2 separate regions of the Homo sapiens genome follow, and region 2 is linked to region 1. The links are contacts of gene promoters, found by promoter capture Hi-C in human tissues and cell types (Jung and others, 2019). All regions are on one chromosome and are shown on one strand. Each heading gives the region's core, a stretch centred on a gene start or on the middle of the fragment in contact. The rest is flanking DNA. Distances are from core to core; before and after follow the strand shown.

Evidence for each region. Contacts are between HindIII fragments. The study calls those that stand out against the background at their distance.
Region 2: a contact is called between a fragment that was not itself captured here and the fragment with the promoter of SLC25A51 in region 1, in 1 of the 25 tissues and cell types used here (bladder).

Annotation. Positions count from the first base shown.
Region 1 is chr9:37,901,454-37,907,903 of GRCh38, forward strand. It overlaps SLC25A51 (solute carrier family 25 member 51), which reads right to left and starts at 2,674. Exons shown (of 3, transcript NM_033412.4): 1 at 2,615-2,674. It also overlaps the pseudogene PAICSP1. RefSeq lists a silencer at 2,115-2,874. The HindIII fragment of the contact is 6,842 bases long and covers 1,164-6,450 here.
Region 2 is chr9:37,937,100-37,943,582 of GRCh38, forward strand. The region is part of intron 5 of SHB (SH2 domain containing adaptor protein B); the gene reads right to left. Among named protein-coding and RNA genes, the nearest start is that of SLC25A51, 36 kb to the left of the region's middle. The HindIII fragment of the contact is 4,559 bases long and covers 2,874-6,483 here.

The DNA.
Region 1 (6,450 bases), core at 1,424-3,923:
CCACTGTGCCTGGCTTATTTTCTTGTAATTCTTAAGTGAGACAACTATTTTTATCCTTTATTTCATAACTTGACTGTTTAAGGCTGTGTACTTTTCTTTGAGCAAAACTCTTATTACTATTTAAGAGAGTTGGCATTTTGTCTTAACTATGCTTGCTAGTAAGTGTCCCAAAATCTTCAGTGAGTCTAGTGTTGTTATTCACAGTAAAAATAAGATTAAAGGGAAAAAAAAGGTTCCAGAATATCATCTGTTCCCTCTCTCCTCTCCCTTTCTTAATGTACAGAGTTTTGGGGCTTAATATGATTAACTTCAAGATATGTTCTAGACACTGAAGTCTGTTAGGGTATTGAGTTTGATAATTATTAGTTCTACTACATCCTTACTTTTTACTGATTCAGCTGATAGGTATGAGTTAAAAACTCTTATTAGTACACTTACAAGCTAAGATTAATCAATATTTGAAGTCCTAAAACTTAGTCTAGAAATGCTTGATACCTATGTAATGCTTTGCACTTCTTCAGTTTCAGAATTAAACAATGTTAAATCAACAAGAATATTTAGATTAATGTACATGATTACATGATATTGTGACAATTTATGAATGTCAAAACCATTTTATTTTTACATACGGAGCACACAAAATATTTTAAATTCTAAAGTCACCACCTACAAGCTGTTTACACATGCTCCTTGACAGTACAAGCCAAGTTATTTGTGTACTTGAACAACAATAAAAATTTTGTCCATGTTCACTTTTACTGGAATGTTACTTGTATTACTTTCTGAAATTTTGCAAATAAAGGTTAGTTTATTTATGACTCTGTGTGAGAATGGGGACTGTTATTAAACAAGCAGAAAACTACAGCTAACAGAAGTTAACCATTTATTGACCACCATATCCAACTATTTTAAGAACATTACTGTACATTGAGATTCTCAGATTTAAAAAATAGGCCTAGATGGGGGAAAAAATGTTATGAAACCCTCCTGGACTTTACAGATTTAAAGCTTTTTCTCTAGTTTAATCCTACACACCAGGATGGTGTGAATATGTTCTTAATTTAGCAATAGAAGGATAATGTGCACAGCATTATTTGGTAGTACAGTTTAGACTTTTGCATGTTTACCTATACTGTGAACATGGTTAAATTTCTTTGCTAAACTGATCTTTATATTTTTATTCATTAATGTGGATAATTCTTTGCAATTTATTGCAAAATTTATTTACCATAACTTTACGCTTGTTTGCTACGTAAAACTATCTCATCATAAGGGAGCAGTTAATGAACTTGATTTTCAAGCAACTACAAGTGTCAAGCTTCTGTGACTAAGAAAACAGTGTAAAGTCTAAAACCTTATTATAATTTACAGCCTACATGGATCAGCATGATACAGATATGATCCTAGCACAAAGGTCTCTGCAAAAACTGGGGAGAGGGTGACTCCAATTCTCAAAGGATGTGAATTTCCACTAGTCAGCAGGTCTGAGTCAGCATTCAGAACAAGATCAGCCTGGGTCTAGTCCTAGTTACGACACTAGCTTGCCAATATAAAGACAAAGCAATATCTGATTTTAAAATCCACTGATCTGAGTTTGCTTTCATTTACCAAACGAGAGATCAGATGAGTCAACTCCTAGCTTGTTTTCCCCTGAGATGCGCTAAGGGTGATTCCAGTTCCAAAGCGGTAACCTGTGCTCTAAACCACTATGGGACCTCAAGAGTCCTAGCACCTTTTGATCCTATGGAATCCTTTCAAAGCACGGGCAGAGGCGGCTCAAAATGGCAAGGTCACTATACATTTCAAGGGCTTCTGTTTCAGAGATTACAAGTAGAGAAAAACAGAAGGTGGGAATTAAGATCAGCTAGGTAGAGCTGTGAGATGCAAAACAAAGGTTTTGCAGGAAGTTGAGGTGCTGACATACTCCATCTAGCTAAACTGAACACCAAATAATGGATGGAGACTAACACCACCAACACCATCGTCCCCGAAAATCCTTGTACAAGTGAGCTTCCTACAACGCGATGCAATATGCTGTCGCAGAACAAGCACTGCCAGGCTATGTAGCTGAACTTACCGTTCTCCAGGCGTCCATTTCCCCAACCTGTGAAAGGCGGGGAGGGGGTTGGACAAGATCACTAAGTCCTCTTCCGTTTCTGACACTTCACAGTCAGGGGTCCCGAGGTGAGGCCGAAATCCCAGTCTCCCGGGACGCAGAGGCCCTTGCGCGGTGCCATCCCCGCTGTCCCCCGGGCGCAGGCAGCTCCCGGCTCCTCCCCGCCCCTGCGGTTCCTGTGCACCAGGGAGGTGCCTCCCCAGCCCAGGGCGCGCCCGAATGAAGGGACAGCGCCTTCGCGGGAAAGGTCGCCCAGCAGCCGGACAAACACCCGCGGCAGGCGGGGGAGCCCGGAGCCGAGGAGGCTCAGAACTGATTCCGCCCGCGCCGCCTGGGTGGGGCCCGCAGGGACCGGGCCAGGGCAGCCGGAGCGCGCAGAAGACAGGGATGGGCCCCCAGGGCGGCAGCCTGCCCCAGCGGGCCCTTCAGCGCGTTTCCCCTCCCTCCAACCTCATGCGAAGAAAGCCCGGTGCTTCCCCACGCTCGTCCCACACTCACCCATCAGCGCCGGCGTCCCGCAGGACGGCTAGCGAGCCGGGGCCCGCGCAGGCGCAGACTGTGACCGACCCCGAGGTTGGGGCGCAGCGCGACGCGCTGGGCGCTGTTGGGGTCACGTGAGGGAGACACCGCCCCGCCCCGCCTCCCCTCCCTCGGCCCGCGGCCCGCCAGATGTCGCCAGCCTACTTCTCCTGGCCGCAGGCCGCCGCGGCGGGGCAGGTAGAGGGCCACGCCAGCACACCTGTCAGGATGCGGGCTCCGCTAGCCACCATGCTTCACCCTTGATGCCGTACGGTGGCCTCAGCGTGCCAGAAACAGCCAACGCGTTCTCTAGCGCGCTGCCTGCAGGGGGCGTCTGGGCATTGTCGGTTTTAGGGGCCTTGTCGGTTCTGCGGGGCGAGCGCCTTCGCGGAAAACTCCAAAGTACCCTCTGTGGAGCCTTGTTGAGTATCTTCAAACCTTCAGAGGGACCTTTTATCAGCGACCCATGCCGCAGTTTACAGAAGAACGCTTTGTGCGTGCTTTGGGACGTATGGATCACTTTTAAACTTTTTCCTTTGAAGCTCAGACAGCTTGCGGGGGGCTTGGGAGGAGCGCTGCCCGGGGAGTTAGAAGGCTTGGGTCAAAGTCATAGCCCTCATACTTCTTGAGAGTGACCTTGGGTGAGTCGCTGGACCCTGAGCCCCAAATCTCCGTCTGAAAAGTAACCCATGCCTTGTATGCGTCCTCGGGCTGTTGCAGGAGTCTTTGGAAATGATGGTTCTGACTCTGAGTTGGAAACTGGAACGCACACAACAGATGGGAGGCGTTGAAGGAAACAGAAAGGTCGGCCTGAGGGGAGAGGCGTTTCAGGAGGCTTGCGGATGTGTGAAGTGTGCGCACTGTGCTTGGGGCGAGCCCAAGCAGTAACCCCACCCGAGTGAAGCGTTCTTGGGGGGATCGGCTCCGGGTGGGCGACGTTCCCCGCGTGCCCCCTTCCCCCGAGAGCACTTTGTAGACACTGACTCCAAAAGCGGGTCTGGTCTCTGCCCAGCCCCACTTTGGCTGGCGTGCTTAGGTGCCTCTCGGGAAGCTGGAGACCACCCTCCCCCATTCCAGCAAACGCTCCATTGAGGAACCTACTGCGTGCCAGGTCCTGGGGAGCTTAGCGTCTGATGAAGGATACAACAACAAAAGACTGGAAATTCAGAAGCATGAGGGGACCTCCCCCCTCGAGGGAGAACCAGAGATGGCTTCACAGAGCAGACGTTTGAACTGGGCCTTGGAGGATGGATGAGTGGAATTTGGCCCAGTGGAGAAAGTCATAGCAGCAGGAGATAAGATTGTAAGGGTCAGGTGGTGGGGCTGGATAATGCGAATCTTGACTGTCAGACACAGACACCTGCCATCTAATTAGTACGCGAGGGATAAATTTTGGACTCCGCAGGATAAGGACAAGGCTACACAATGGCTTAGAACAGTTAATCGGGCAACAGTTGGAAAGGGCCTTTGCCTCAAAATTATGTTTGCCCTGTCTTGTGTGAATGCCTATTCAGATGCATTATTTGAAAAATAAATAAACCAGGCAGGCATCCAGCGTGTTCATAAGCATAAATAATTAATTTCAGATTAGAATGGAGAGGTTATTCTCCTGCGGTAAAACCTGAACAAGAAGGAAAAGACTGAAATTAAACACACAATTGGGGCACACCAGACTCAGAAAATCCCAGGCTAACGGGAAAACTGAGGTCTGGAGCTGAGCCCAGTCTGCTTCTTTTATGCTGCTGCAGGCCACAGCACAGTCCTCTGCCCCTCCAGCTCTTAGTTCCTTGTCAGAAACCCCCAGGCCCTTCATTGGCTCTTCTTGGGCATATGAATGTTGGGGATGAAAACCCTCTATTTTTGGATACCAGATCCATCTTAAAGTTAGCCCTTCATTTCTGTCCTCATCCACCCATTCCTGCATTCCATACCTCCAACCACTAGGTCAGCTGCCAGATATCCTCCAACCCAGCTGTGATCATGTCATCCCGCAGCTTAAAAATCTCCAATGGTTCCCCCTTGGTTCCCTCTTGGTTCCCCCAGTAAATCCAAACTCCTTAACTCGGTGCACGGGGCTGTCCTGTCCTGGCCCTTTTGCCAGTCTGTCCACCTCAACCCCAACTATATTCTGTGCTTTAGCCATATGCAGTCTCAGTGTTTTGCAAATCCTGTGTTCCTTAAGCCTGTTTCCCCCTTTCACCACTGATACATGTTAGCCCTTCACCAAATAGCCCTTCAAGGTCCTTTTGCCTCCTCTCCCTCCTAGAAGGCTTCCCTGATCATCTCAGGCAAAATTGACTGTCCTTGCCCCTGCCTTCCCATGCCCCAAAGTTTGGGGCGCTTCTGACATCCTGTCCTATGTTGTAGTCACTCATGACAGTGTGATCTTTCCCACCGCCAGCTCATGAGGGCAGAGCTGTCTGGCTTTTTCCTGGCTCTCCAACTCAGTGCTTGGCAAAAAGGGCGCCTAGGAGATGTTTGCCGAAATGAAATGCGGGTGGAGAGCAGAGCTGTTGGAAGGCAGGGCCTGGGTTCCTGGGGGAAAGGGCCATAAGAAGGTTGCTGGTGGATCTTTGCTTAATCACCCTCCACTCCTCCCCTCAAAAAATGCTTTCTAGAAGGTTGTCTGGTGCCCTCAGACTTCATTGGCTCTTAGGTGCACGAAAACAGCCTTACGCAAGCTGTCAGTGGAGTATCAGCTACTGTGAGTGACTATCTCTGCCACTCCCCTTCACACCCCCAGTACCAAATGGCCAAGGGCCAGCCAGCCCCTTGGTGTTCCCTTCCCTGAACTTGCTGCATTCTTTTCACGTCCCCCAACGCTTGGGTATTTTTTGTCCTCTGTGCCTAAAAGGTCTTGCTTGCTTCATAACAATGTCCTGTTCCTCCTGCATGGCTCAGTTCAGAGGCTTCTGGTCACTGCTGCCCCATCTGAACTCACTACGTCCTGCTGCAGAGCCCCTCAGTGCTGTCAGCCCCACCCTCCCTTGCCCCCACCTCAGGTCCTTGCAGTCTGTCCCCATGGCTGGTCTGTGAACTCCAGGACCTTCTCCCTTTCTGCTTCATTCATGTCCAAACCTGCTCTGATCCAGCAACTCACGTGCATCTGTATTAATAACATATAACAGAGACCCAGGGTTTACCCTGCCAGCCTGGGAGATTGTTTGTTCTCTTCAGTTTATTCATTCATTCATTTTAATGGTGGTGGGGCCCCACTGAATCAGTGATTCTTAGCCCTGTTTCACATTAGAATCATCTGGGAAGCTTTGAAAACAAAACAACAGCCACCCCCCGCCCCACTCCCCGGCCCCATTCCCCTGCCCCAGAGGTTCTGATTTAATTGGTTTGCAGTGGGACCTGAACCTTAGTATAGTCTAAAAGCTTCCCAGGTGTGCTGAGGTTGAGAACAACAGTGCTCAATTCTTGCTTCCCCAATGTGCCTGAAGACAAGAATCTCTTGAATTTGGGCAAACTACCTATGGGCCATACACTTAGGGACAGCACCAGCACTGAGTCACCCAGAAATGTGTTAGAAATGCAGAATTCTGGCCCCAGTAAACCAGGATTGGTATTTAACAAGTTCACCAGGTGTGCTGTGTGCACATTACAGATTGAAAAGCATTGACCTAGATTCTAGGTCCTAGAGGTCTGGTTAAAAAATAGATCTGTCTCATGTCTGTAATCCCAGAACTTTGGGAGGCTGAGGCAGGAGGATCACTTGAGTTTGAGACCAGCCTGGGCAACACAGTGAGACCCTGTCTATAAACAATAAAATAATTAGCCAGGCGTGGTGGCACACATCTGTAGTCCCAGCT
Region 2 (6,483 bases), core at 3,903-6,402, 38 kb after region 1:
CACCTCTGTACATCACAGTACTTCCCTACTGTCCTGTCTCCTTGTCTGGACTGTGAGCTCAGAGGCTGACATGTCTTTGTCTCCTCACCCAGCTGACAGCCCAGGGCACGATAAGAGCTCAGTGGTGAAAGCCATGCTGCTGACTTGTCTATAAGCTCCGCCCTGAAAGCCTGTGCTTAAAACGTGGCAGGGTGATCTCCAAGCTGCCTGAGGCCATAAGCAGAGTGTGGATTTTCCAAAAGAAATGGCAAAAATAAAATTAAAATTAAAAAATGGTTTTAATTAAAGCATTTGGAATAAGCTAGCTTTGCCAAACCCAATTGTTTCTGATATTCCTCTTGGGTGAAATAATCTTTAAAAAGATAAGAAAAAAAAAAAAAGCAAAGCATTATTAAAAGTGGCAAACACTCGTGCTGGAAGGAGGATGGAGGCTGCTCACAGGGGAGCTTCCTAGAGAAGAGCAGGTGAAAGACATAGACCCGCGGATGGAACAGCCTCTGCTCCAACAGAGGGCAAGGGCGCCTGCGTGCGAGTGTGCCGCATACACAACAAAACCTCATTTTATAGCCCTAGCATTTGAACTGCGGGAGCGAAGACAAGGGCTATAAAATTTGACATCTGATTTTATAAATCTGCCTCAAGGACTGACAATGTCTGTGGAGAAAATGAGAGAAGAATATACAGTGCTTACGGGGCTCCAAAGGGTGATAACCCTGGGGTGGGAGCTGGGACTTCTGGGGGCTCTACCAGCAGCCTTCCAGAGGACCTCAGGAAGGTCCTCTTGCCTTCCTGTGCCTCAGTTGACCCCACCAGGGTCTTGACCTGGATGATTCAACTCCCTTTGGGCTCTGACTCCCCAAAAGTCTGGGGAACAGTCAGGCCCTGCCTTAACACTGGGATTTTACCACGTGAAGTTAGCTGCTTCAAGCCCCACCGAATGCCTCTAGGTAAGGGCCAATCATGTTTCCTGTGGGGCCTTTGTATCGCTTACCCAGCTATCAGTAAAATAAGCCCCTACAGCACAAAGGCTCTGCAAACCACCCTACCTGCATCTGTGCAGCCTCTCAGAGTTTACAAGAGCTTCCACTGCCATTGCAAATCTGGGCCTCAGGGCTCAGAGGCTGAGACGGGAAGTGACTCACTGGTGACCTCCTGGCTGGTAGGAATGGTGGGATTCAGGCTGTAATCCCCGGGCTCCTGATCACAGCCTTCCTCTCCATGCAGCCACCCTTTCACTGATAGCAGATGTGACGTCTGCAGCTGTCCTCGTGGCCTTCCCTGCAGCACCCTCTATGCCTTCTCCCAAGTCGCCAACCAACTCATTCCCAGATGGCTTTTGCAAAAATATTGTTAAATAATTCAAATTAACAAGATGTTAGAAATGTGATTGGAAAGAAATGTTTTTCTCATTTGGAGAGACCACCCAATGCCTCAGAAGGCAACTGTCCCGGGGCACGAGAGGTTTCCTGGAGACAGACGGGCAGTTGGAATGCTTCCCTGGTGGCGGAGCCGCACAGGCAGATTTATGTGGGCTGATACGAGACAATTAAAAACCGGCTGGAAATGTAATCGCGGCTGCTCAGATGCTGGAGAAGACCAAGGAGCTCCGGTAAAACAAAGGGCACTGCTCCATCCCTGGCTCAGACGGGAGACGCAGCAGTCCAGGGAGGGAACCCCAGCCTGTTGACGGGCACGTCTGGCACTGCCGGGTTGGGGGGTGGTGCACTGGGCCGTGAACTGGCAGAGTGAGGCAGAATGAGAGCAGGCACCTCTTGCCTCTGCGTTTTAGGCAGCATTGGGAAGGGGGAAGCTGAGCTGCAGGGAGTCTGTTTTCCTGGTCTTTTCCAGGTCTACGTTGCAGCCGGGAGAGCCACTATCCACCCAGCTGCTCCGAAATCTGGATGTGGTCCTTGACTCCTCACTCCTCCTCCCTCTCATCAATTCTACCTCCACACACCTCTCCTTTCTACTCCCACTGCCCTAGTCCTTCTCTCCTGATCTATATCACACACCCAGGGCCAGATAGGGCTTCCTAAACTTCTCTCTCATCAGGTATGTAGGCCGCCTGCCACTGGCCCCTCTGAATTGGCCTTGGCCTCCTAGTTTGCTACCAGATAGTCTCAGCATCATCAGCCTAGCACCTGAGTGCAAATGGAGAACTTCTAAGCTTAGCTGGAGCAAATGGCTGAGAAGGGTCAGGAAAGAACAGTGGTCCAGGAGCTGGGCAGGCTCAGCCTCTGCCCCTCCCTGACAACACGGCCTTAAGACAGGTTAAGCCCCTTTGAGCCTCTGTTTCCTCTTCTGTAAAGTAGGAGCAATGAGTTGCGCTTTCTTCACAGCTCCTTGAGGGCTGGACCCAGAGAAGAAACTAGACTCTTCTATTTGGGTCATGGATGCTGACACTGTTGGCTCAGAACCAGCCCCTCTGGTTTCAGGTCTCTGGGCTTTCTCCATGTCACCACTGCCTGGGGAAAGGGGTCTGAGAAATGCTGGGCACAGGGCTCATGGTCACAGGTCCTGTCAGAAAATCCAGCTTTGGTCCAGAGAACTAGTTGGCCATTGGCTGGGCTTCTCAGGGCCTGCTAGGGAGGAATGGGGGTGTTTCTATTCCGAGAGACCCCACAAGGTAGAAAGAGGCCTCGAGCTGTGTTGCAATCTCATCTCTTTACTCATTAACTGTGACGTAATGTGAACACCAGTTTCTTTATCTGTAAAAATGATGGCAATGGTTGCTACTCTTCTTGAACATACTATCACAGTGTGAAAGCTGGCTATTCCCAAATATCAGGCCCTGTGCTGGGCATGCTGACCCGTATCACCTCACTCACATGTTACAGCAGCCCAGAGCAGGTGGCGGGGCAGGATTTACACTTGCTGTGCTAGAGAGTAAACAGAGGGCTCAGAGAATATGCAGAACTCAAACTAGGGTCTGTCTGAACCCTTCAGAAAGGAAGGGTGCAAATCATGGTGACTAGTTTGGGATCCCGTAACTTGTCAGAGGCAGAGCTAGGATTTGAACCCAGGTCTCCTGGGCATAGGCCCAGGGCTGTTCCTACACTCTCCACCCCCACTGCACCAGAATCACCAAAGCACCAGGCTCAGAGTCCAGAAGAGGTGCCAGTCTAATGTTGAGGGTGGCGTCCTTGGCAATGTTTTACCACCAGCAGGGCACATTTTCTCAGTAATTCTGAATAAAGGGAAATGTCATCTAATATTCCTCACAGTGTCCCCTCAATGGTGCACTCTCTTATCCTGCAAGGCATCTGCACATTCTAAAGTTCACTGTTCTCATTTAGTCCTCTGCAAAGAGTGTTTGAGGAGTCTCTGTTTTGCCTACAGCAGTGGCTTCTAATTGTGGCATTTCTTTTAAACCTTTTAGAAGGAGAAAACACGAAGCACGCTAATTGAGCAGAAAGTTCATTTTTCCTCCATGAGCCCTGAAAGGACATGAAATCCTCCATGCGATAAGAGCAAAGAGACAGACCCCCTCTTCCCCCACCACCCCTGCTGCCCTGACTCAGGCTGGCTCAAATGCTGCTAGCAAACAGCTTGCCTGCTGGGAAAGCCAGAGGCAGGCAAGCTTCTTCCTCTTTCTGGGCCTCAGTATCTCCACTTGTTCAAGATATTGGACCAGAAAATTGAAAAAGTCTCTTTCTGTTCCCTAAACCCCAAGATTTCTGCTTAGGGTATTCCTGGAGCTGCTACCTTGACTGGCTGCCAACATGCTTCCCTATGAGATGAGGAGGCCAGACCACAAGTTCGGAAGATGGGCAGGAGAGCTGGAGGGGCAGCAGCATGGTGATGAAAAAGGATACCTGTTGAGTGGTCATCATCTCCAGCTCCTGATGAGCAACTAGGAGGTCAGAGAAGTTCACTCATTCATCCAAGGTCACACCAAAGCACAACGTACAGAGTGCAAGAGAGGTGAGAGGTTCAAGACAGGTTATCCAGGAAGAGGGGAGCCTGGATTGGACTCCAGTTCTGTGAGATTCTCTAGCATTCTTTCCAGCTGTAGCCAATAAAATCTAGAACCCATCATCGTAAAGGACAGTGGATGTGGGCACAGATGGAGACTTCCAGGTTGAACCCAGACAATTTGCAATGCACTGGGACACACCGAGCTCTTTCCCCAACAACCCGTGGCTCTCTGAGGTCCATAATAAAGACATTTGAGCTACCACTGATAGAGCACTCACTATATGCTGGAGCATATGCTAAGCACTTCACATATATTGTGTCTTCATTAATACACCTGTGAAACCCATTTTATAGATGAGAAAACCAAGGCTCAGAGATGTTCAGTCCCTTTGCCCAACACTACCCTGTTAGTATGTGGCGGAGCTGGGTTTCAAGAGCCTAAGCCAAGACCCAGAGCCATTGTCTTCACCGCTGTGCAGAGCTCCCTCTGTTGGGGGAGTCATGGGGCACATGGCCAGGAGCTCAGGGCCCCTGCAACCACTGCTGAGCAGTGTGGGGGTCCTGAGGCAAGCAGTACTGTACCTGAGCTGCACACACCTGCCTTCCCTGAAGTTTGCTCTTAAAAGGCTTCATCATCCCTGCAGGGGCCTGGCTGGGGAATACAGTGACCTACTAAGTCCACTGTCAGGTATTCAGGTATGCTGGGGCTGTGTGGGGAACTCAACAATGGCCAGGGAGGTCCCACTGTGGCCTTGCAGGGACCACCCTGGTGGCTCACACATGGGAGCAAGCAACCACCACGGAGCTAGGTGTCTGGAGTCTCAGATGTTAACCCAACAAGGGGATGCTTGGACGGCAGAAGGAAGTGGAGACTTGCTCCCTGCTGATAGATGAGGGGAGAGCAGCCTTTCCTCATATCCCCACTCCCACTGGCCCCTAAACCTTTATTATTTCTTTCTCCTAGCTGTCAGCAGCAACAAACTAAGATTAATCACTTGCCTGCCTGGACCCAGACATGCCTACTGTTTGAAAACTCTCTCCTTTGCTATATTAATCAATGAAGGGACAGACAAAAGAAAAACAACCCTAACTGCCACGCACCCCCAGTGCCCCTCAGCTCTTCTTGGCCCTGTTACACCCACCCAACCTCCTTCGGAGCTACAGGAGGTATTTGCCGGCTAAAGACTGAGTACCCAGCAGTCAACACAAACCCGGCTGCTCTAAGCCGGATACAAATAGACGTCATCAAGCAATCTGAAGGACAGGAGGCAAGTTCTTGATAATGTCGTGCTCCTCCTTCCCTCCTTGGAGGAGATGGGACCTTCCTGCCATCCTTGGACTGAGAGGAAAGTGGTCTAGTCATAGAACCCTTAAACTGGAAGCAAGTTTACTAATCAGACCCCAGACCCTCATTTTATCGATGCAAGTGGAGAAGATACCTGCCAGATACCTGCCCAAGTCACCTAGTGCAGCAGGGACAGCCTGGACTCACCCAGGGCTCTGTCTACTCTGCTGCTTCCGTGGTGATTTCTGAAGGCTCTGGAAAAGCTGGGAGAAGCAGAGACTGGTATATACTGAGCACCATCTATGTGTAGGGCTTATCTGCCAAGCCTTACTTCTTGCTGAGGCAAGCATCCCGTGATGCTCAGGAAGGTGCAGTACCTTGCCCAGCATCAGGTGCGGGGAAAGAGATGGAAGCAGGACTTGGATTCAGATATCTGACTGCAGAGCCTGTGTTGTCCCTCTCCATCTTGAAAAGGGCTGCCTCGGTCTCCTGGGATGCCTGCCCACGTGCTGTTCGCCTTCTGGACTCCTACATCAGGCCCCTCCCCAGCTCTCGGTCTGTGCCAGTTCACGTGGCATGTGTAGGGACATGGAGGGGAAGGGGGGGATCACTGGGGGGACAGGGAGGCAGAAGCTGGCATCCCTCCTCGCCAGTACTCATGGGCCCCCTAGTTCACTCATGGTTCTAGAATACAGCCCTGACAATAGCACTGCATCCTGTTTCAAACCTTGAGAACTCCCTGCTGCCTCACAGGTAAAGCCCCGACCCCTCCACCTGGTGATCAGGGCTACATCTCTCTTGGGCTCAGATGAATGTGTCATTTGTTGTTCTTAGGCAAGCTCCGCCCTGCCCTGTCTCTGGGCCCATTCTCTCTGCAGCCTGCCTTTTCTCCCCTGTGCATGGGTTTAAGACCTGCTCATCCTTCACATTCCCCTTCCTGATTCCTTCCCTCTTTCATAGCCTGGAAACTTTCATAGAAAGAGTACTTTCTACTTCGGGCAGCCCTGAACACATTCTCCGTGAGTTATAGGTGTAAGTGTCTTCCTTTCCTTGTGAGGCTGTGAGCTCCTGCAGGGCTACAGCTCATTCAGTAACTGACACTGGACGGGGCAGAGCTCATTGGCTGGGCTGGAGAGGCTGTGAACAACCAAGTGCCACAGCATGATGGAAACAGGCCAGACCCCAGAGGTGTCTCCTTAGGTCACGTTTGCAAGATGCCAGGCAATTTGCCTTCGGGGATTAGAAAGCCAAAGGTCCCTCCGTAAGGACTGTATGCAGCC